Linked DNA regions of Homo sapiens: regions 2, 3 and 4 are each linked to region 1. The links are contacts of gene promoters, found by promoter capture Hi-C in blood cells and fetal thymus (Javierre and others, 2016). All regions are on one chromosome and are shown on one strand. The core of a region is centred on a gene start or on the middle of the fragment in contact, and the rest is flanking DNA. Distances in the headings are between cores, read along the strand shown.

What was found. Contacts are between HindIII fragments. The CHiCAGO score rates a contact against its expected background, and 5 or more counts as called.
Region 2: a fragment that was not itself captured here is called in contact with the fragment with the promoter of CHTF8 in region 1 in 1 of 17 cell types (endothelial precursors); the score reaches 5.2 in endothelial precursors.
Region 3: a contact is called between a fragment that was not itself captured here and the fragment with the promoter of CHTF8 in region 1, in 1 of 17 cell types (endothelial precursors). The highest score is 6.1, in endothelial precursors.
Region 4: a contact is called between a fragment that was not itself captured here and the fragment with the promoter of CHTF8 in region 1, in 14 of 17 cell types (endothelial precursors, M2 macrophages, megakaryocytes and 11 more). The highest score is 10.2, in endothelial precursors.

Annotation. Positions count from the first base shown.
Region 1 is chr16:69,130,244-69,135,194 of GRCh38, reverse strand. It overlaps CHTF8 (chromosome transmission fidelity factor 8), which reads left to right and starts at 2,607. Exons shown (of 4, transcript NM_001039690.5): 1 at 2,607-2,711. It overlaps DERPC (DERPC proline and glycine rich nuclear protein), which reads left to right and starts at 2,607. Exons shown (of 3, transcript NM_001002847.4): 1 at 2,607-2,711. It overlaps UTP4 (UTP4 small subunit processome component), which reads right to left and starts at 2,546. Exons shown (of 17, transcript NM_032830.3): 1 at 2,506-2,546; 2 at 1,577-1,737. The coding sequence starts at 1,735. RefSeq lists silencers at 2,498-2,857, 2,878-3,027. The HindIII fragment of the contact is 3,017 bases long and covers 1,518-4,534 here.
Region 2 is chr16:68,917,728-68,922,678 of GRCh38, reverse strand. TANGO6 (transport and golgi organization 6 homolog) reads right to left here. Exons shown (of 18, transcript NM_024562.2): 12 at 3,460-3,594. Among named protein-coding and RNA genes, the nearest start is that of TANGO6, 77 kb to the right of the region's middle. The HindIII fragment of the contact is 1,144 bases long and covers 1,868-3,011 here.
Region 3 is chr16:69,325,026-69,329,976 of GRCh38, reverse strand. VPS4A (vacuolar protein sorting 4 homolog A) reads right to left here. Exons shown (of 11, transcript NM_013245.3): 11 at 3,038-4,951. It overlaps COG8 (component of oligomeric golgi complex 8), which reads left to right. Exons shown (of 6, transcript NM_032382.5): 6 at 798-3,549. PDF (peptide deformylase, mitochondrial) reads left to right here. Exons shown (of 2, transcript NM_022341.2): 2 at 798-3,064. The coding sequence ends at 955. Among named protein-coding and RNA genes, the nearest start is that of PDF, 3.1 kb to the left of the region's middle. RefSeq lists an enhancer at 1-23. The HindIII fragment of the contact is 2,928 bases long and covers 960-3,887 here.
Region 4 is chr16:69,300,076-69,305,026 of GRCh38, reverse strand. SNTB2 (syntrophin beta 2) reads right to left here. Exons shown (of 7, transcript NM_006750.4): 7 at 1-4,195. The coding sequence ends at 4,103. Among named protein-coding and RNA genes, the nearest start is that of VPS4A, 8.8 kb to the left of the region's middle. The HindIII fragment of the contact is 3,068 bases long and covers 419-3,486 here.

The DNA of each region.
Region 1 (4,951 bases), core at 1,358-3,857:
ATAAATGGTGGGAATGCAGATGTGAGTATCACTGACATGGTTCCTATCCTCATAAAATTGGAAGTTCAGCATGGAAGAAAGACATTAAACAAACACACAAATTATATAGTTATAACTGTTACAAATGACAAACAGAAAAATCATAATATGGCCATGACTGTTAAAAAAAAAAAAAAAGAAGAAGAACAAGACCAAGAAAAAGATAATCAGTCTGGTATGAGGGCTCACACCTGTAATCCCAGCACTTTGGGAGGCTGAGGTGGGCAGATCACTTGAGGTCAGGAGTTCGAGACCAGGCTGGCCAACATGGTGAAACCTCGTCTCTATGAAAATAAAAAAATTAGCGAGGCATGGTGGCACACCTGTAATCCCAGCGACTTGGAAGGCTGAGGCAGGAGAGGGAGGCAGAGGTTGCAGTGAGCCAAGATCACGCCACTGCACTCCAGCCTGGGTGACAGAGCAAGACTCCGTCTCCAAAAAAAAAAAAAAAAAGAAAAAGAAAAAAAAAGAAAATCACAGGATGCAATAAGCACACGCCAGCGCATGTTCTTCATACCACAGAATGTAACCCATTTGTGGTGGTCCTGTAGTTTTTACCTTTTGATTAGTTCTTCAGGGGTGAGCTCAGTAAATCATCCCTTTCCACATTTCCTAAACCCACCTCTCAGGGAAGGCAATTCTCTGAATTGCCTTCCCTGAAGGCAATTCAATGAAGGTTCTATGCCTGTGTTTCGGTTTATCATATTTATTTTACAGGTTGGAAACTGTACACTTATCTTTCTCCCACTGGTCTTTGAGCTCCGTAAAGTTAGGGCCTCTGACATTTGTCTTAGTGCCCAGTATTTGCCACTCATTCACCGAGAAACATTTACAGAATGCCTAAATTCCAGGTACCAGGCTGCTGGGCACTGAATTCACTCATTTGCCCATCTACTCATTTATATCACAGCACCCAGTACATAACAGTCATTCAACATGAACTAAGATGTTGCACCCGAAGAAAATCACTAGTCAGTGCCCTTGGAGGGGAGAAGAAAAAGGACTAATAGACCTCTGCATACACCCAAAGGACATTTTACCTAATTTTAAATCTCCTTTACTCCCAAATGTAGACATGTAGGTCTACATTCTCTCAGACAGATGAACTTTGGAATCCATCTTCCCACATCACCAAAAAGTTTCTGATATTAAAACGTGTTATCATTTTTTCTGAATTGACAATGAAACAGTACTGATACTCCCTGCAGGAAATTTTGCTTACCAAAGCTGCAATGGTGTTGAGACTGATATACCAACAATTTCCCTTCCTGTGTCCAAAAGATCCAGCAAACCTCAGTTTCCAATGACAGGCAGTGAGATGTCACATTTCTAGGTAGGACCCTTCTAATCAACATTACACAGATTGAAACTGAGCTTCTCTTATCAGTTAGGAGATCTCAGAAGTTTGGTAGTTCTAAGCAACTTCAGAGGGGCTAGGAAGTCACTCAATCAGTTTGATTATAAAAGACATACAAGCTTCTTGAACTTCAGAAGAAATTAACATCAAAACACCATATCAGACTCCCAAATGACTTACTTTCTCCTGAAAGTAGTTTGCTGACAAGTTATAAATTTCCACAGTGCCATCTGTTCGTGAAACAGCCAATCTGTTTGACTGGTTATTGTAAGCCACACAGCGGATTCCTGATGGAACATAATTAAAGAAACGTACTCGATGGACCTTAAATTCACCCATTCCTAGGGGGCGAAAAGAGAGTCATTATTGCTATATGTTAACTGCAGTATGTCACATATAGTATTCAGTTCCTTAATATCACTGTTCTGGCTGGAAGGCTCCAACAACATCTCCCTGAAGTTCATTTCCAAATGGCTGCTAACAATGCCCCCCACAAGAATTACTCAATCTTCAAAAGCTCAGAATGGCTTGAATAATAAGGAGGCTTCAGCAAAAAATCAAAAAGGGTCCTACTCCATAGCTCCAGAGTTCCTATCTCGGGGCGCCTAGGAATCCGCATTTTAGCAAGCATCTCTCCTCAACTCTATTGCTAAGTTTGCAAACAACAGACCTAAACTGAGGTAGTGACAGTGAGGCTGATGGGGCAGGCAGAACCGAGCTCCTCTTGAGGAAGAAACGACAGGGTTTGACTTAATCTGGCTGCCTGGTCTGACGTCTGTCACTTACCCTACCCCGTCCCCCCGACGCCCGCCAACATATATACTGGCCGAGAGTAGAGACCAGGTCTTGTTCGCCCCTCACTGGCCTAGCTTCAAGGTTAGGAACCCGCAGACAGAGCAAGCGCGTTCGGTCGGGCCGGGGCGTCTGAGGCGCGCGCGGTCTTCGCCTCCCCTTCCCTCTCCCCGAGTCTACAGAGTAGCCCCCACCCCGCCTCGGGACAAGGAGACCCTCGGGACAAGGAGCTCAGCCGGACGCCGACCCTGGGCCGGCCACCTTGTAAGACCCCCCCAGCTCTCGCAGCCGCTTCCCACGCCCCTTCCCCAACTCACCAGCGGCCCCACGCTCCCCTTCCCGGTGCTCGCCTCTCTCCGCCCCGGCCCCACGTGCGCGCGCGCTCTCAGGCTCTGCCCCGGAAGTGCTCCTGGCGCATAGTCGGAAGTGCGCAGGCAGTGCTCGCGGCGGCGGCGACGGCGGCGGGAGGTTCGGTTGTCGCCCGTTGGCCGCGCGGCGCCGCGCTCGGCGGCCGCCATTGCAGGTCAGGCCGCGGGCGGGGGGCACGGGAGGCTGCGGGGAGCGAGGGCCGAGCCGGGATTGGGGGCGAGGGCGCGAGGGAGCGGGAAGCTAGGGAGCCGGGGCCGGGCGGGGCGCGCGGCTCGGAGAGAAGAATGGCGAGCCGAGGGGCGGGGAGCGCGGGCGGGGGAGGGGTGGCCGGGAAGGGGGAGGGCGGCGGGAGGGCGGCGCGGAGGTGGGGGCAAGCCCGGAGGGGCCTCCGGGGTGGGAGGGCCAGGAGTGTGGGGGAAGGGAGCGGTGTGGAGACGGAAGGCGGAGGGAAGGAAGGGAGCGAGCGGGGCGGAGCGGGAGAAGGGCGGAAAGGGTGGCCGAGCGCGGGCGGAGGACGGAGAAGGGGGCGGCGAGGGCCGGAATCTCGAGGTACGTGCGGGAAGGGGCTCTTCCCGGGGTTGGGAGGGAGCCCAGCCCGCTATGCTTGCGGGAGCGGAGTAGAACTGGAACCTAGGAAGTAGCGGGAAGAGCAGAAAGGGGAGTTCGGGGTGGGGGTTAGGACCGTGAGGTTTTGTTCCAGGTAACATTTGTAATCGTGGAGGGGGGAGGCTTCTGGGAGAGGTAATTGGAAGGGTGGTTGGAGAGTCATTCCAGGTTCTTTTGTGGGAGGGAAGCCGAGAGACGAGTGGGGTGGGGTCCTGGAGGAGTGGAGTACTTGAGAACCGGGAACAATTTGGAGAACGAGGGTGGTAGAGAAAGGACGTTTAAAGAGTAATCTTTGGGAAGAGGGTGAACGGTTTGGAAGACCACTCCAGTGGGTGGTGTGGAGGAAGGCGGTTTAAAGAATAGTTTCCCTGGGAGGCAGGAAAAGGGGTTAAAACAGCTTGTAATTTGGAGGGGGGTGGAGAAGAGGGGGGAAGCGGATTGAGAAGTCCCAGAAAGTGGGTGGGACTAGAAATAGGAAGTGTTTGTAGCTCTAGCAGAAAGGGTGGGAGGGGGCCGAGAGGGAGTGGGTGGAGAAGATGGGGGTGGGTGGGAGGAAGAGCACAGAGGGAGACTCTACGCCGGGCTAGAAAGGAAAGGGTTTGGGGGAGTACAGGGGGCCGTACCATTAAGAGGAGGACAGGCTAAGATGGGGCTGCAGAGTAGCAGAAGATGGAGAAAACTGCAGTAACTCAGATCGACTGAAGCCATCTTTTCCACCCATTGCTACAAATACCAGTAATTGATTCCCTCCAACGTGGGAATCCTAAAATGTGATGGGAAGTATCACGTGTATGCATAGCATCCACACACGTTTTTGAACACACTTCACTAATGTAAAGTTTGGAAGCATTCAATTCCACCAACCCTCCATAAGCCCCTTTTTGGAGGGGAGCAAGATTCTCATTTGGAAACAGGATTTTAGACTTAGTAACATAAGCCTTTCAAGAGACAAGATCCCCTTCAAAAGTATAGACCTGTCCCCTTCAGTTACAAAACCACGATAACACTACAAATAAAAATAATCTGTATTCGGTTGTATGTAAAACGTTCTGAGTTGTTCACTTGGTAGAAAGGCACATAGAGACATAGTCATCATATTTAGAGAAATTACCTTCCAGAACTTAATCCCTGAAGCAGTTTGGTGAACCACAACTGCCATGTTTGAATTCTACTGTTATGAAAACTTGATTTTATTCTGATGACCTGCTGCTTTCGTAGAATGCTTTAGTCCGTTATAAACATTAATATGCTAACACAGTGTAGTATTAAGACATTCTATTTGATGAATACTAAGAAAATGCCACCTTTCTCTGGGAAATCGATAGCTTGACCCTGAAGGCTTACCATGTGTCAGACAATGTGCTAAAAGCTTTACATTCATTACTCGTTCTTGCAACAGCCTTTCAAAATAGGTGTTTATGCCCAGTGTATTGTTAGGAAAACACGTGAGGTTAAACTACCCACTGTCACATATGGGATAGGTGGCAAAATCACAGAATCCAGGTCTGTATGACAAGTGAGTGCTTCACTATATTCGTAAACAAAGTATCCACCCTGGGATCAAAAAACAAAAGCTCAATAAATGCCAACTGTTGGCCTAGCAAAAAATAGAAAATTGTGAATATTTACACTCTGAAATAATTGATTTCACCCCAGTTTAGAAAAGAATGTTTAAGGGTTGAGAATTTAAAGGCTTGGTTTCCTGTTTGAAAAAAAAACAAAATTTCTAAAACGTTGTTTAGCTTTATTAAAATTTAGTTATTTGTATTGAGGTTAAACCGTTGAGTC
Region 2 (4,951 bases), core at 1,190-3,689, 210 kb after region 1:
TTCTTGAGGGGACAGGGAGGAGTAACCAATGTATAATACTTTTAGTGGTGACTAACTCTGAAATTTAGAAAATGAGCCTGGAACTACAGTTATCTTGTCAGCAGTCTTTTTTTTTTTAATTATAAATTTTTGTTTGTTTGTTTTGAGATGGAGTCTTGCTCTGTTGCCAGGCTGGAGTGCAGTGGCATGGTCTCCGCTCACCGCAACCTCCCCCTCCTGGGTTCAAGCGATTCTCCTGCCTCAGCCTCCCAAGTAGCTGGGATTATAGGCACGCGCCACCAAGCCCGGCTGATTTTTGTATTTTTAGTAGAGATGGGGTTTCACCATGTTTGCCAGGCTGGTCTTGAACTCCTGACCTCGTGATCCACCCGACTTGGCCTCCCGAAGTCCTAGGATTACAGGCATAAGCCACCGCGCCCGGCCTTTTTTTTTTTTTAATTTTGTTTTTGTTGTTGTTGTCAGCAGTCTTAAATACATGCTTTTTCCAAATTAACTCCTCTTCCCAGACACAATGTTCTAATAATCACTTTGATTACATAAATTAGAAACAAAAAAGGTTCAGATGATGTTAGATTCTTTTTTAATAAGCCAAAACAACGAATCCTAGTAAGAAATAGGAAAAAACAGTATATTGTTAGCCTGACAATGATTAACTGAAAACACAATTCAGAACCATGACATTTTTTTCTAATACAAAGAAAGAAAATCCAGCATTACTATAGAAGCCATTTACAAATCCATGATTCAAACAGAAAAAAAGTAGTAGATCTAGGGCAAAGGTATAGGGGGTGACGTGCTTATGTTCACTTAACTAACTGCAAAGTCAGAGGAATGCCGGATGTAATCAGTGAGTCAGGATGGCTCACAGAAAGGCAGGGGCCTGCAAGGTATAACCTTGATATCAGTCAGGTGAGTCTGTCTTAGAACACAACTAATGTGCACAGCCAGCCCTCCAACAATGGGCTTCTAGAAAGGGAAATGGAGATTTTTGTGATCTATCTTACATTGGGATGTGGTTTGAAATGATAAGTGTGAAGTAAAGAGAAGCCAAAAAAAAAAAAAAAAAAAAAAGCACACTCTCACCTTGTGGAAAAAGACTATTCAAATCAATATTCAACCAAAAAAAAACAAAACAAAACAAAACAAAAATCTATTTGGCCAACTAAATCCAATAAGAATACAACTTAAGAAAAATGATTCCGGCCGAGCGTGGTGGCTCATGCCTGTAACACTTTGGGAGGCCGAGGCGGGTGAATCACTTGAGGTCAGGGGTTCGAGACCAGCCTGGCCAACATGGCAAAACCCTGTCTCTACTATAAATACAAAAAATTAGCTGGGCGTGGTGGTGCATGCCTGTAATCCCAGCTACTTGGGAGGCTGAGGCAGGAGAATTGCTTGAACCCAGGAGGTGGAGGCTGCAGTGAGCTGAGATTGTGCCACTGCATTCCAGTCTGGGTGACAGAGTAAGACTCTGTCTGAAAAAAAAAAAGAAAAGAAAAAAGAAAAATGATTCCATCAGTGAAACTTTCCTTGATAGTTCTTTTTTTTTTTTTTTTTTTTGAGACAGAGTCTCGCTCTGTTGCCCAGGCTGGAGTGCAGTGGCGCGATCTCGGCTCACTGCAACCTCCGCCCACTGCAACCTCCGCCTCCCAGGTTCACGCCATTCTCCTGCCTCAGCCTCCCGAGTAGCTGGGACTACAGGCACCCGCCACCTTTTTTTTGTATTTTTAGTAGAGACGGAGTTTCACTGTGTTAGCCAGGATGGTCTCGATCTCCTGACCTCCTGATCCGCCCACCTCGGCCTCCCAAACCTTGACAGTTCTAACAGCAAGGGTATACTATGGCTCTAGAAACTGAACCAAAAGCTTTTTTTTTAAAACAATATGGAAAATATATAATTAGAAGTGCTAAGTAAATCTAAAGAAATGGGCTTCACACTAATAACAGGCCCAGATAAAATTCCCTTTCCTTTTAGACAGGCTAGTGAAAGGTATATTCTAATACATCGAGAATCAGAATCAGATTTGAATCCTCAAGCTCAAAAATCCATTCCCAGAGGGTATCCTACTCATTGCTAAGGGTTATGAGCAGGCTGGCTGCAGGGTAGATTTCATAAGACTCACACTAAGCCTATTCTGCTTTCCTGCAGACTCCTCACCTAACTCGGTATGTAATCAGCCAGTCACACACACATGCATGGTCTAGCCCTTGACTATCTTTTGTCCTTGCAGGCATGCTCTTCCCCTTGGTCTCTACAATTCACTAACACCAGCCTTCCATCAGTGTCTCAAGTATACCAAGCTCTTTGCTGCTTCTAAGCCTTTGTACGTGATGTTTTCCTTACTTGGAAGAGTTTCCTTCAAATCTTAGCTTACGCTTACACTTCCTCAGTGGAAATCTTCCCAGCCTAGGTTAGATGTTATGTGCTCTTGGTACCCGCCACTTCTCTTTTGAGACCCTTCATTCAATTCTAAGTACATTTCTGAACAGTCATTTAGTGTCTGACTTCCTTACTGGACTGCAAGTTTCATGACGGTCTGCCCTGTCCCCTGCTGTATTCCCAGCACCCTAGCTTAGTATGTGTGGCACACAAGTATGCAATATGTAGGTTTTGTTTGTTTAATTTTTTTTGAGATGGAGTTTAGCTCTTGTCACCCAGGCTGGAGTGCAATGGCACGATTTCGGCTCACTGCAACCTCCGGCTCCTGGGTTCAAGCAATTTTCCTGCCTCAGCCTCCCGAGTAGCTGGGATTACAGGCACCCGCCACCACGCCCAGCTAATTTTTTTTAAATATTTTTAGTAGAGACGGGGTTTCACCATGTTGACCAGGCTGGTCTCAAACTCCTCACCTCAGGTGATCCACCAAACTCAGCCTCCCAAAGTGCTGGGATTACAGGCTCAGTGAGCCACCGCACCCGGCCAATATGTAGTGTTTAAAAAAATAAATTTAAAAATTATAAATTAGGTATGTAAAAGACATACATACTTAAAAGTGGCTGGAAGCAAAGCTTTAACATGCTACCTGATAAGGGATGAAGAATGAATCCTGTGCTAAAATGGAGCATTCAAAATAGATGGATCCTATGCAACCAGTTGAGGACTTTCCCCAACAACAGTAGCAGAAACAAGGGCTGAGCTTTGGAGAGTGAGAGCCAGAAAATCTAGTATTCACCTCAGATGCAAAACACCAGGCTAGATGTTCCCAAATTAAGATTGTAACAGGTAGAAAGGACCCTGCCCTTCTGATAGTGAAGTCTATGCAGGTGACAGAGTAGAAATGGTGCAACTTTCTTGTTCTCTACTTTGGAGAGAATTCTCATTAACAAACTAACTTCTTTATCTAGGTTCTCCTATGTACAATATCCATTCTTATTTCTCACAAGGATATGGAAGGAAAACAACTGGTATTTCGCTTCTCCCTTCCCTCCATTCAAGCTTGCCTCATGTCTACAACTCACCTGAACAGCTCCTCCTAGCATGACAGCCACCAGCCCCATGGACATGCTCAGCGTCTGTGATTCCACGGTGCTCTCTGCCTGATGGGCCAGGCTTGCACAGGCTCTCTGCAATGTTGCTGCTACAAAGTCCACCACCTACCCAAAAAAGGGAATTGAGAATCAATGAGGAATGAAAAAAAAAAATCATAATTCTCCTTACATCTTATGTCTACATCCTCATCTTCTTCATCTACATCATGATAGCAAGAACCATCCAGAACAACTGCTACTTACCATGCAGATGTGATGTTCAGTGTTTTTTTTTTAAACATTTACCGGTTTATTATAAAGGTTATTACAAAGGACACAGATGAACAGACAGATGGATAGGACAAGCGGGTGGGGGTGTAGCTTCCATGCCCTCTCTGGGCTAGCCCCACTCCCAGCATCTCCACATGTTCAGCAAGCGGGAAGCTCCCAAGTGTTTCACATGTACAATCTCATTTAGTTCTCATATCAACTCTATGAGGTCAGTACTATTATCCTCATTGTGAAATGAAGAATCTGAGACTTTAAAAGGTTGTTTGTTTAAGGCCATACACTTAATAAATGAGAAAGCCTATTCATACTTTTCCAAATGTTTTAATATGCTACTCCAACTTCCTTAACTTTTCATGAATTTTGCCTGAAAATTAAAAAGCAAAATGACTTGTAAATTAACTTAAAATGGATCACGGACTGCAATGCAAAATACAAAATTATAAACTCCTCGAAGATAACATGAAAAATCTAGATGATCTTGGGTATGGTGATGACTTTTCAGATACAACACCAAAGGCACAATCCGTGAAAGAAAGTAATGATAAGCTGGACTTCACTGAAGTTAAAAATTCCTGCTCTGCGAAAGACACTGTCAAGAGAATACAAAGAGAAGCCACAGACTGGGAGAAAATATTCATCCACAACAGTCTGACAAGAGACTGTTTTCCAAAATTTACAGAGAACTCTTAAAGCTCAATAATAAGAAAACCTGGGTTGAGCACGGTGGCTCACGCCTGTAATCCCAGCACTTTGGGAGGCTGAGGTGGGTAGATCACTTGAGGTTAGGAGTCGAGACCAGCCTGGCCAACATGGTGAACCCTGTCTCTACCAAAAAATTATCTGGGCATGGTGGCACACCTGTGGTCTCAGCTACTCGGGAGGCTGAGGTGGAAGAATCGCTTGAACCAGGAAGTGGAGGTTGCAGTGAGCTGAGATAGCACCACTACACTCCAGCCTGGGCAACGGAGTGAGATCCTATCTCAAAAAAAAAAAAAAAAAATTAGCCAGGCATAGTGGCAAGTGCCTATAGTCCCAGCTACTCAGGAGACTGAGGTGGGAGGACTGCTTGAGCCCAGGAGGTCAAGGCTGCAGTAAGCCATGATGGTGTCACTGCACTCCAGCCTGTGTGACAGAGAGAGATCCTATCTTGAAAAGAAAAGAGCCCAATTAAAAATGAGCAAAAGTCCTGAAC
Region 3 (4,951 bases), core at 1,174-3,673, 190 kb before region 1:
GGCTGCTGGAGCAGCGCGCGCGTCTCTTCTGCCCGACTCCGCGAGAGCGCAGAAGTGGTCGCGGTTCATACGCCGGACCTCCCGCAGGAGCGAAGTGGGATGCGGGAGCGGAGAGGCCTCAGGACGGATAGAAGCTCCTGTGGGGTAGAGCCCGCTCAGATAGGACGCAGGGGCGAGGAGAGGTCCCCTAGTTCCGCTGTTACCTGACAGCCTGGCGTCTGCTTTCTGCTCCCTTGCTCTCTGAGGCAAACACGCTCTTCGGCCCCAGTTAGATCCGCCACGGTGGAGTTGGAGAAGTGGGGGTTAGCCCCCGCCAGCCTGACCCAGCCCAGGGGGCTAGGCCATTCCCCCGTGGTACCACAGGATGCCTCGCGGAATGCGGGCTCTGCTGGGGTCGGGGTGATTGTTCCTGCACAGCAAGCCCGTCGGTTCAAGATGGTCAGAAAAACAAGTGGGGTCTCAAGCTGCAGAACCTCTGTTAGGAGTTGGGAGCCCACAGGTACCTCAGAAGTGGGAGGAGTGTTCGGAAGGGTCGCACCGTAGAAAGATGATTTCTCATCTCAGCTCTACAGTGAGCTCGATAACCTAATTACCAGAGTTGGGAACCAGGTTGAACGCTTGGTAATGGACCGAGATGAGGGACGTTTTCCAGTTAGAAGAGGAGCTGCTGTCTACATTTGCCATCTGCTGTTGCCTCTTGTCAATGGGAACAGCCAGGACCGGGGGCAGGGGTAGGGAGGTTGAGGATGATGCAGTTCAGCTGTTCCCACTCACCAGGGCTGTAACTTCCTTTGCAGGGCTGGACCCCAATGGAGAACAGGTGGTGTGGCAGGCGAGCGGGTGGGCAGCCCGCATCATCCAGCACGAGATGGACCACCTGCAGGGCTGCCTGTTTATTGACAAAATGGACAGCAGGACGTTCACAAACGTCTATTGGATGAAGGTGAATGACTAAAGCTTTGCTACTGGGGCTGAGGATTCCGGATACCAAGACGCAAACACTTTCACTTTGAGCTGGGCAAATCTTACTTGGCATCAACTTGGATGGCTCGCATATGACAGGAAACTGGATTGCCAAGGCATGGCAGACTGAGCTGGAGGAAGATGTCAGAAATGTTTGCCCTGAAATCAGTTACGGACAAAATGTTGGCTACAACTTGAGGAGAAAAATCACCCCCAAAGGAGTGGACATTTCCTAACAATTCTGTATGGAGGAAGGTGGGGTAATTGCATTCGTCTGCAGTAGACACGAGTTCCTCGGACCTGTATAATCTCCCAAAGCCAAGGTTTGGTAATAATGTAGTCCCCAAATACCTGAAAGCTGTCTTTAAAAATGCAGGTAAGCATGTGACTGGCCATTTGTGCCGAGTTCTTATTTTTACGGAGGGCTTGTGGCCTTAGACGCCAGTTTGCTTATGGAAATGAAAGAGAATAGTCCCTGTTCAAGGATGTGTTTCATGACAGCACGAGTGTAAATGAGTGCCCACACATTTTAACAGCCTTGGGCAGGATTTTGCTGCTGAGATCCCTAGAGCAGCTGGTTCTTGGCTCATTCTTGGGGTAGAGGCCGTGGATCAGGGCTGGGGGCAGGGGTGACAATTGAGAAGTGCACTGAGCCCTTTCCTGTTAACAATTGGGCATAGAAAGCAGGATTAGTACTTCCTGGTTATACACTTATTTTGTAAAAATAGAATTAATATCACAGCAACCAATGTGTAGGTTTAAGAAAGTGGCCAGGTGCAGTGGTTCACGCCTGTAATCCCAGCACTTTGGGAGGGCGGGGCGGGTGGATCACGAGGTCAGGAGCTCAAGACCAGCCTGGCCAAGATGGTGAAACCCTGTCTCTACTAAAGATACAAAAATTAGCCGGGCGTGGTGGCGAGCACCTGTAATCCCAGCTACTCGTGAAGCCAAGGCAGAGAATTACTTGAACCCAGGAGGCGGAGGTTACAGTGAGCTGAGATCACGCCACTGCACTCCATCCAGCCTGGGCGACAGAGCGAGACTCAAAAGTATGATTCTGGCTGTAGAGTTTTCTTTTTTTCTCTGTCTCAAAAAAAAAAAGTGTCAGCTTTGTCTTGTCAAGAGGTGAAGGAACTTGTTTTATTCTTTTATTTTTTTTTTAAGATAGAGACGGGGGTCTTACTATGTTGCCCAGGCTGGCCTCAAATTCCTGGTCTCAGGCAATCCTCCTGCCTCGGCCTCCCAAAGTGCTGGGATCAGTTGTGAGCCACACTACCCAGCCAAACTCCAGTTTTAGTTAAACTGTTTCACCTCATTTTTATGCTGAGTTTTGTAAAGTAGGTATTCTTGCTGAACAGAGTCCTGAAAATCAAACTATACAAGTAGTAGGAAGTCCATTAAGCTGTTTAGAGGAAAAAGTGTTATAAATGGCAGTTAAATGAACCCAGGAAAGACCCATCCTCCTTTGTGGCTTTCTCTGAGGCCCCATGAGGCCAAGCAGAAGCAAACTGGCTCTAGGTGCAGCCAGACTTTGAAAAGGAATCCCGGCCAGGCTTGGTGGCTCATGCCTGTAATCCCAGCACTTTGGGAGGTCAAGGCAGGCAGATCACCTGAGGTCAGGAGTTCAAGACCAGCCTGGCCAACATGGCGAAACACTGTTTCTACTAAAAATATGAAAATTAGCTGGGTGTGCTGGTAGGCGCCTGTAATCACAGCTACTTGGGAGGCTGAGGCGGGAGAATCGCTCAAACCTGGGAGGCAGAGGTTGCAGTGGGCTGAGATCTCGCCACTGTACTCCAGCCTGGGCGACAGACCAAGGCTCTGTCTCAAAAAAAAAAAAAAAAAAAAAAAAAGGGAATCCCAACCAGATACTGGTGCAAGGTCAGAGATGCAGCCAATGGGGAGATTTGTAGAAAGCTCATAGATGCTAAAAACATGGGTCTTTAGGAAAATTAGAATTCAGCTGAGCCTCCTTTCATTTGGACAATGTTCAGAAGCTCTTACAGGGGGCTATGGCAATCTTTTGATGCTTCTTATAGCTTTCTGAGGTTAACGCTTTTGTGGTGGGCATCGGTAGCAATAAAATGCAAACTTTATTGCATTTCCAGTAAAATCTCTCCCACTTTGAGCAGGAAGCACTCACAAAAAACGCATATACATGTCAACGTTGTGAGCTCATCAGAGTTTTAGAAATCAACTTCCACAGTGAAAGCCAATGTAGGCAGAAGGTTTATAACAGAATCCCCAGGCAGAGAAGTGAATTTCAGAGCATTTCAGGGAGGAAACTCCTCTGCACATGTCAGCATGTTTAACATCGATGATGGCAGGTTGTGTGCTGGCAGCCAGAGTCTGAGGCCACTGTCCAAAGTTCAGCGTCAGTGGTTCCTGTTGCTGGTCATGGAGAGAGACAACTGGAAAGTCAGGTGTCTTCACGCTCTAACTAGAGCACAGGGATGGACCATAGCCATGCTAACCTTTGTTAACCCCTAGGACTTGTCAAGGTGTTTAAGCAGTAGGAATGAGGAAACAACGTTCTGATTCAAGTAAATGTAACTAGAAGTAAAAATTTAAAAACTTGTAAGCTCACTAAAGTGAAGCTCTGCAGACACGGTTCATATCCTGGTGGCTGAGGGCACATAACCAAGAACTTACACAAGCACCCCCAAGCCACAAAGATCCCAGCTGCTATGGTTGAGGGGTAACCTGCCAGCACTGGAGCCAAGTGTTGGAGCTACTGATCCAAAGTTAGCTCACTTCTGCAGAGGCTCTGAACCAGAGCAAAGAAATGGCCCAGTGCAAGCCCAGTGTGAGCCAAGAGTTGGCCATGTAATCAGTTCTGGCCCAACCAGGTTTGAAAGGTAGAGGAGCAGTACTGGGTTTTGGAGAGGGAAGGTTGGAACAAAGCCCTTTGCAGGCTATAAGCTTCATTTACTAGGCCAGGTCTTTCTGTGTGAATGTGCTTTGACTTTGGTCTGTTTATATGCATGGGGTAAACGTGGGACAGCCTCTGCAGCTTCACTGCCTGCCGGACGTGGGTCCAGGGCTGCCAGCTCTGGGTCCTTGGTCTGTTGGGGGTCGCAAACTGAAATGGCCATGGGGCTATCTGGGCAGGCAACACAGATGAGTGGGGATGGGGGACCCCTTCTGTACAGAGCAGCCTCTACTTAGTGGCCGCTGACAGGCTGCCCCATGAGGACGCAGGCCCAACATTACCTAATTTAATCTTCTAGAAGTCAGAATTCTGAATTTTTATGTCAACTCTCGACTTTTTTTTTTTTTTTGAGACAGAGTCTTGCTCTGTCGCCCAGGCTGGAGTGCAGTGGCGCGATCTCGGCTCACTGCAAGCTCCGTCCCCCGGGTTCACGCCATTCTCCTGCCTCAGCCTCCCAAGTAGCTGGGACTGCAGGCGCCCACCACCACGCCCGGCTAATTTTTTTATTTTTAGTGAGACGGGGTTTCACTGTGTTAGCCAGGATGTTCTCGATTTCCTGACCTTGTGATCCGCCCGCGTCGGCCTCCCAAAGTGCTGGGATTACAGGCGTGAGCCACCGCGCCCAGCAACTCTCGACTTTTAAATGTTAGCGGCCCAAAGTGCTGGGATTACAGGCGTGAGCCACCGCGCCCAGCAACTCTCGACTTTTAAATGTTAGCGGCAGACCAAACCAAACAAACACAGCTGCAGGACGGGTCTGGTACGCAGGGCTCCCACTTTGCAGTCTCTGATCTGTAGGCCGAACAACGGCAAGAACTGTCTGGATCCCACAAACATCCCCAGCCAAACTTCTGAGGCCTTAAGGGGAGGAGGCCTTGCACACCTGACTGGAGAACAGGCCTAAGAACTGCAGTGTTCTGTTTCCTGCTCTGCTTTAGAAAAGAGAGGAGACAGAAAACCAGAGGGTCTTTTAATTGGAAGCAAGGGTGGCCCTTCAGAGTCTCAGTTAAGAGTCAAGGAAAGATGAGATCACTTGGGTAGCTCAAGAAGGGAAAA
Region 4 (4,951 bases), core at 703-3,202, 170 kb before region 1:
AAACATAGCCTTGTCCAGATTCCACACAGCTTAATTTTTTTTTTAAGCATAATTTCTGGGGCCAGGTGCAGTGGCTCACATCTGTAATCCCAGCACTTTGGGAGGCTGAGGCAGAAGGACTGCTTGAGTGCCAAGAGTTCAAGACCAGCCTGGGCAACATGGCGAAAAAAAAAAAAGAAAAAAAAATCCATAAAAATTAGCCAGGTGTGGTGGCACACACCTGTGGTCCCAGCTACTCAGGAGGCTGAGGTGAAAGGATCATTTGAGCCCAGAAGGTTGAGGCTGCAGTCAGCTATGATCATACCACTGCACTCCAACCTCGGTGACAGAGTGAGAACCTGTCTCAAAAAAAAAAGAAGGAAAAAAAAGAACAAATTCTGGTTTATCAGCTAAGTGCATTCATTCAGCTGGAAAAGCTTTGTTACCATTCAACTTAGGAGGATAAATTAGGAAAACAATCAGTAATAATGTTAGGTATTTGTTGTTTAGAAAGATTTTTTTACTTATAAAAATATAAGAAATAAATAATCCAATCTCTCCTGCCATGCAATAATTTTGAGTAACAAAGTTTGTGAGAGTACAGAACATAAAAACAGGCACTATCAGACCTTCTTTGGCCTAAAAAGTGCTAAAACATGGCTTTAAAATAGGTGAATGACATTTAAAGTAGTATTTTTGACTGCCTATATATGTTCCAGTATTTAACCTGAAACTCTTATCTACTAGGGAGGTGAGTTTACAGTTACAACTATCTAATAAATACTGCAGGAACTTATATTTAAGTATTTCTTCATATACAACATTAGAAACTAATTTCCAGATAATGTTTCATTTGATGACTTCAGGAAAGGACTTACCTTTTTCAGAAAAAGAAAAACTGAATGTTTTTCTTTTGTTCCTTTCCTTTTCTTTTTATGGAGAGAAAGGAGAGAAGTTTTAGGAGAAAAGGTGGGAGACTTTTCATATACCAACTCGCTGCTCCTAGGCATCTGTGTGGAATGTGGAGAAGCTGTCGAAGCCCCGGGTCTGGGGGGCACAGGAAGCAGTCCCTCTGAATGGGGAGCAGACACTATTCTGCAGTTTCCTTTCCATTCCACACACTGGAACCCACCACATCCTCAACAATTTTCTTAATTCAAAATGAAAAAGAAATGAAAAGTGAGCTGGTTCTATAAAAAAGGTAGAATATCGAAAATTCCCATTTGTAGTTATCATTTGGAAATAATTTGCCATACTTTGGCATCTAAATATAAATACATATTTATCATGGTGTCCCATTCATTAGAGAGCACTTCATTTGCGGACTGAAAATCCCACAAACACATTTGATTGAAGAACAACCTTGGTCATCATGACTGGAGAGCTGTTAGGTATGTAAGAAAAGCAGCAAAAGGGTTCTGGTTCTTGGGGCTGCTAATGGACAAAGGAAACCTCCCACACTTTCATTTCACAGCAAGACTCAAAAGATATTAAGAACCCTACAGACCTCAGTGCTATACATGTCAGTTTAACCTTGACCAAAATGAGTGAAAATGCACACATGCCTTGCCTTTCCTGCTCACATTTTAATTCCACCTATTTTACATCCTCATATAACCAACAAGCAGGGTGGCTCAGAAGCTCCCCTGCAAATCTCAGTGGCTTAGCTTTTCACATTAACACAGAAAACCTCAACCAAATGGCTTTGCTGCTGAAGTCTGTAAAGGCATCATTCAACATCTCATATTAATAATGCTCTCACTGCATAGAGGGTTCAAGATTGCCTACCTGAGGGTATTACATATTGAAATTCTGATTCCAGAAATCATTTCTGGACGTTCAAGAGATTTTTTTCCTTCTCTGAAATGAAAATTTATTGTGGGCCAGGCACGGGGGCTCACACCTATAATCCCAGCACTTTGGGAGGCCAAGGCAGGTGGATCACTTGAGGTCGGGAGTTCAAGACCAGCCTAGCCAACATGGTGAAAACCTGCCTCTACTAAAAATACAAAAATTAGCTGGGTGTGGTGGTGGGTAGCTATAACCCCAGCTACTCAGGAGAATCACTTGAACCTAGGAGGTGGAGGTTGCAGTGAGCCGAGATCATGCCACTGCACTCCAGCCTGGGAGACAGAACGAGACTCCGTCTCAAAAAAAAAAAGAAAAGAAAATTTATCTCAGATGGAGCCAATCTTAGGTTTATGAACTTTCAAAACATAAAAAGCTCTTGAAAGACATATTCTTGTCTAGATTTTAATTTCCAGTTTTAAGCAGTTCAGATAATTCATTTTTGGAACTTTGACAATTATATGAAGCTGGGGGAAGAACAGGCATCTCTCCCCAACCTCTGCATATTGTTGGTTTCACTGTAATGAGGAAGGAGGACTGACTTATGGGTGAAGGAGGACAATGGAGTTACAATGTTGACCTAGAACTCTCTCTGCTCATGGGTCCTCCCCATCGGTCAGGCCGCACTGAAACCAAATAGCTCATTTTGCACACAGGTGTGTTTTTCTCTTCTTTTCTCCCCCTGTGCCTGCCCCATCTGAAGTGACACCCTCCTCCACCCTCCACAGCGCTCACATTCTTCCGTGGCACTCTTGATCAATCAAGCAAACAAGAACTTTCCCTAGACCTTTCTTCAGAGAGCATAAAGAACATCCAAGTCAATATTACCTATTCTTTGAGATCCAGGGACTGTGCTAATTTTGACATTTTATATGATATTATACCATTTTAAATGTTTGCAGATATATACCACCTTCAAAATTAGGAAAAACAAGCTGAGTTCATTTTCTAACACTACAAAATCAGCATTCTTGCTGCTACTGTGTCCTAATGATATCTGGCAATCTTAACCAAAAGCAGGTAGCTGTTCCACGGTCTCATCACCCTGCTCACTGTAGGGTGTGCTGTGAAGCCAATAGTAAGTCTCGAATTAGCAGTTGCTTGTCCATGCCACTGCTGCCACAAAGGGCCAGGCCACAGCCAGGATGCTGCATCCTGTTGTTTTTGGGCAGCCCAAAACAATTCAACATGACGTTTGTGCGGAATTGCTGGCTTCACCCACCAAGTCTACTCCTCAAGCAGGCTGGCTCTTTAGGATTTATCTTGTTCAAACAGATCTGCCTACTAGAAGAGATGCCATTAAGGAAACCCACCTCAATGACTATTCCTCAAAACTAGGATAGGTGATCTCCTGGAAATGGCAGTGATTTCCAGTTATTCAAATAGTGACTAATAAAGCTCCACTAACCCTAACCAAAGGCACATTTGGTAAGCAATAAAAAAAATGGCTTAACCTAGGAAGAGGATTTTCATTTAAAATAAATCTTATCCCCTGGCTCCTAACAAAAATAAAATTGGAAAAACCTAAACCAAGCAAAACTTTTCTTTAAAAGCAGTGGCTTCCAACTTGCTTTTCAACTCAGTCACCACTAGAAAGGAAGTAGAAGGCAAGGCAAATCAAATTTACAAGTTCTAAGTCCTAGAGACAGTGGCAAAGCTTGGGATAAGGTGGGAAGTGATGGCCAGGCTGAGATAGAGGGAGATCCAGGGCAAATGGAACAACCCTTTGGTGATACAATTCAAGGACTTCCTATGGTGGAAGGAGCTAGTGAGGACAGTAAATTCCAAGACATACGACCTATCTGGAATGCTCAGGAAGCAACAGGCTGCTGCAAGCTAGCACCTGGGAAGGGACAATTGTTCTGAACAAGAGATCAAGGCTAAGCACAACACAAATCCTACAGGGAGAAGAAAAAGAAAACAATGCTTGGGTATTTGATTATGTCTAAAAATGAAAACAATGAAAAAAAAAGAAAACAATGAGCCATTCTTTTTAGCAGTAGAAATAAACCTAATTACTCATAAACCATATTTTGAAATGAGAATAAATCAACAGCTTCATTTTGGAGCCTTTTAGAGTGCTAGAATATCTGGCCAAGGTAGACTGTGAAAGGTAGGCTCTTCTTTAAACACGGTTATGGTTCAGCAGTTATTTGCAGGTCCTTGGGAAGGCACTGTGCTGAAGGAGAGCAAAGAGTTTCTTTTTGTGCTTTTTTTTTTTTGAGGTGGAAATATTTCTTGTGACAGTCAAGGCTCTTTTCTGATTTTTTGTTGCTCATACAAGCAGTCCCATACGAGTGACTTTGGCCGATAAAAACGTGTGCAACACAAATACAATCGGCTTCGGACAAGAGTGCAGGTCCATGGTCTGTGGAGAAAGGACACTAAGCATCACTACCTCACTACCATATACAGACAACTTAATAAACGAAGATGCAAAATAAATTTAAGGTAGGTAAAGAATGTGCCAGAGCTATGGAAACTCTTAGGAACTTAAAGCCACAGGCAAAAGTGCACTATGGAGTAAGGTTATTCCATGTCATAATACTGGTGTGAGGTTTCACATCCCCAATTAGGAGACAACTGGTGGTGTACTGGGTTTCACCATGCCTGGTAGGAAGAACTAAATAGTAGAGGATTTAAAATCTAAGGCCAGGCACGGTGGCTCACGCCCATAATCCCAGCACTTTGGGAGGCTGAGGCGGGCAGATCATGAGGTCAGGAGATTGGGACCATCCTGGCTAACACGGTGAAACCCCATCTCTACTAAAAATACGAAAAATTAGCCAGGCATGGTGGCACGTGCATGTAATCTCAGCTACTCGGGAGGCTGAGGCAGCAGAATTGCTTGAACCAGGGAGGCAGAGGTTGCAGTGAGCTGAGATGGTGCCACTGCACTCCAGCCTGGGCGACAAAGCGAGACTCCGTCTCAAAAAAGAAAAAAAAAAGAAAAATGACGGCAACAAAAACCAACACCCAATGCCATCTTGAAAACTGAAGAAGAGCAGATACAGTGGCTCACACCTGTAATCTCAACACCTTGGGAGGCCAAGATGGGAAGATCACTTGAAGCCAGGAGTTCAAGACCATCCTGGGCAGCAAAGCGAGACCTCATCTCTATAAA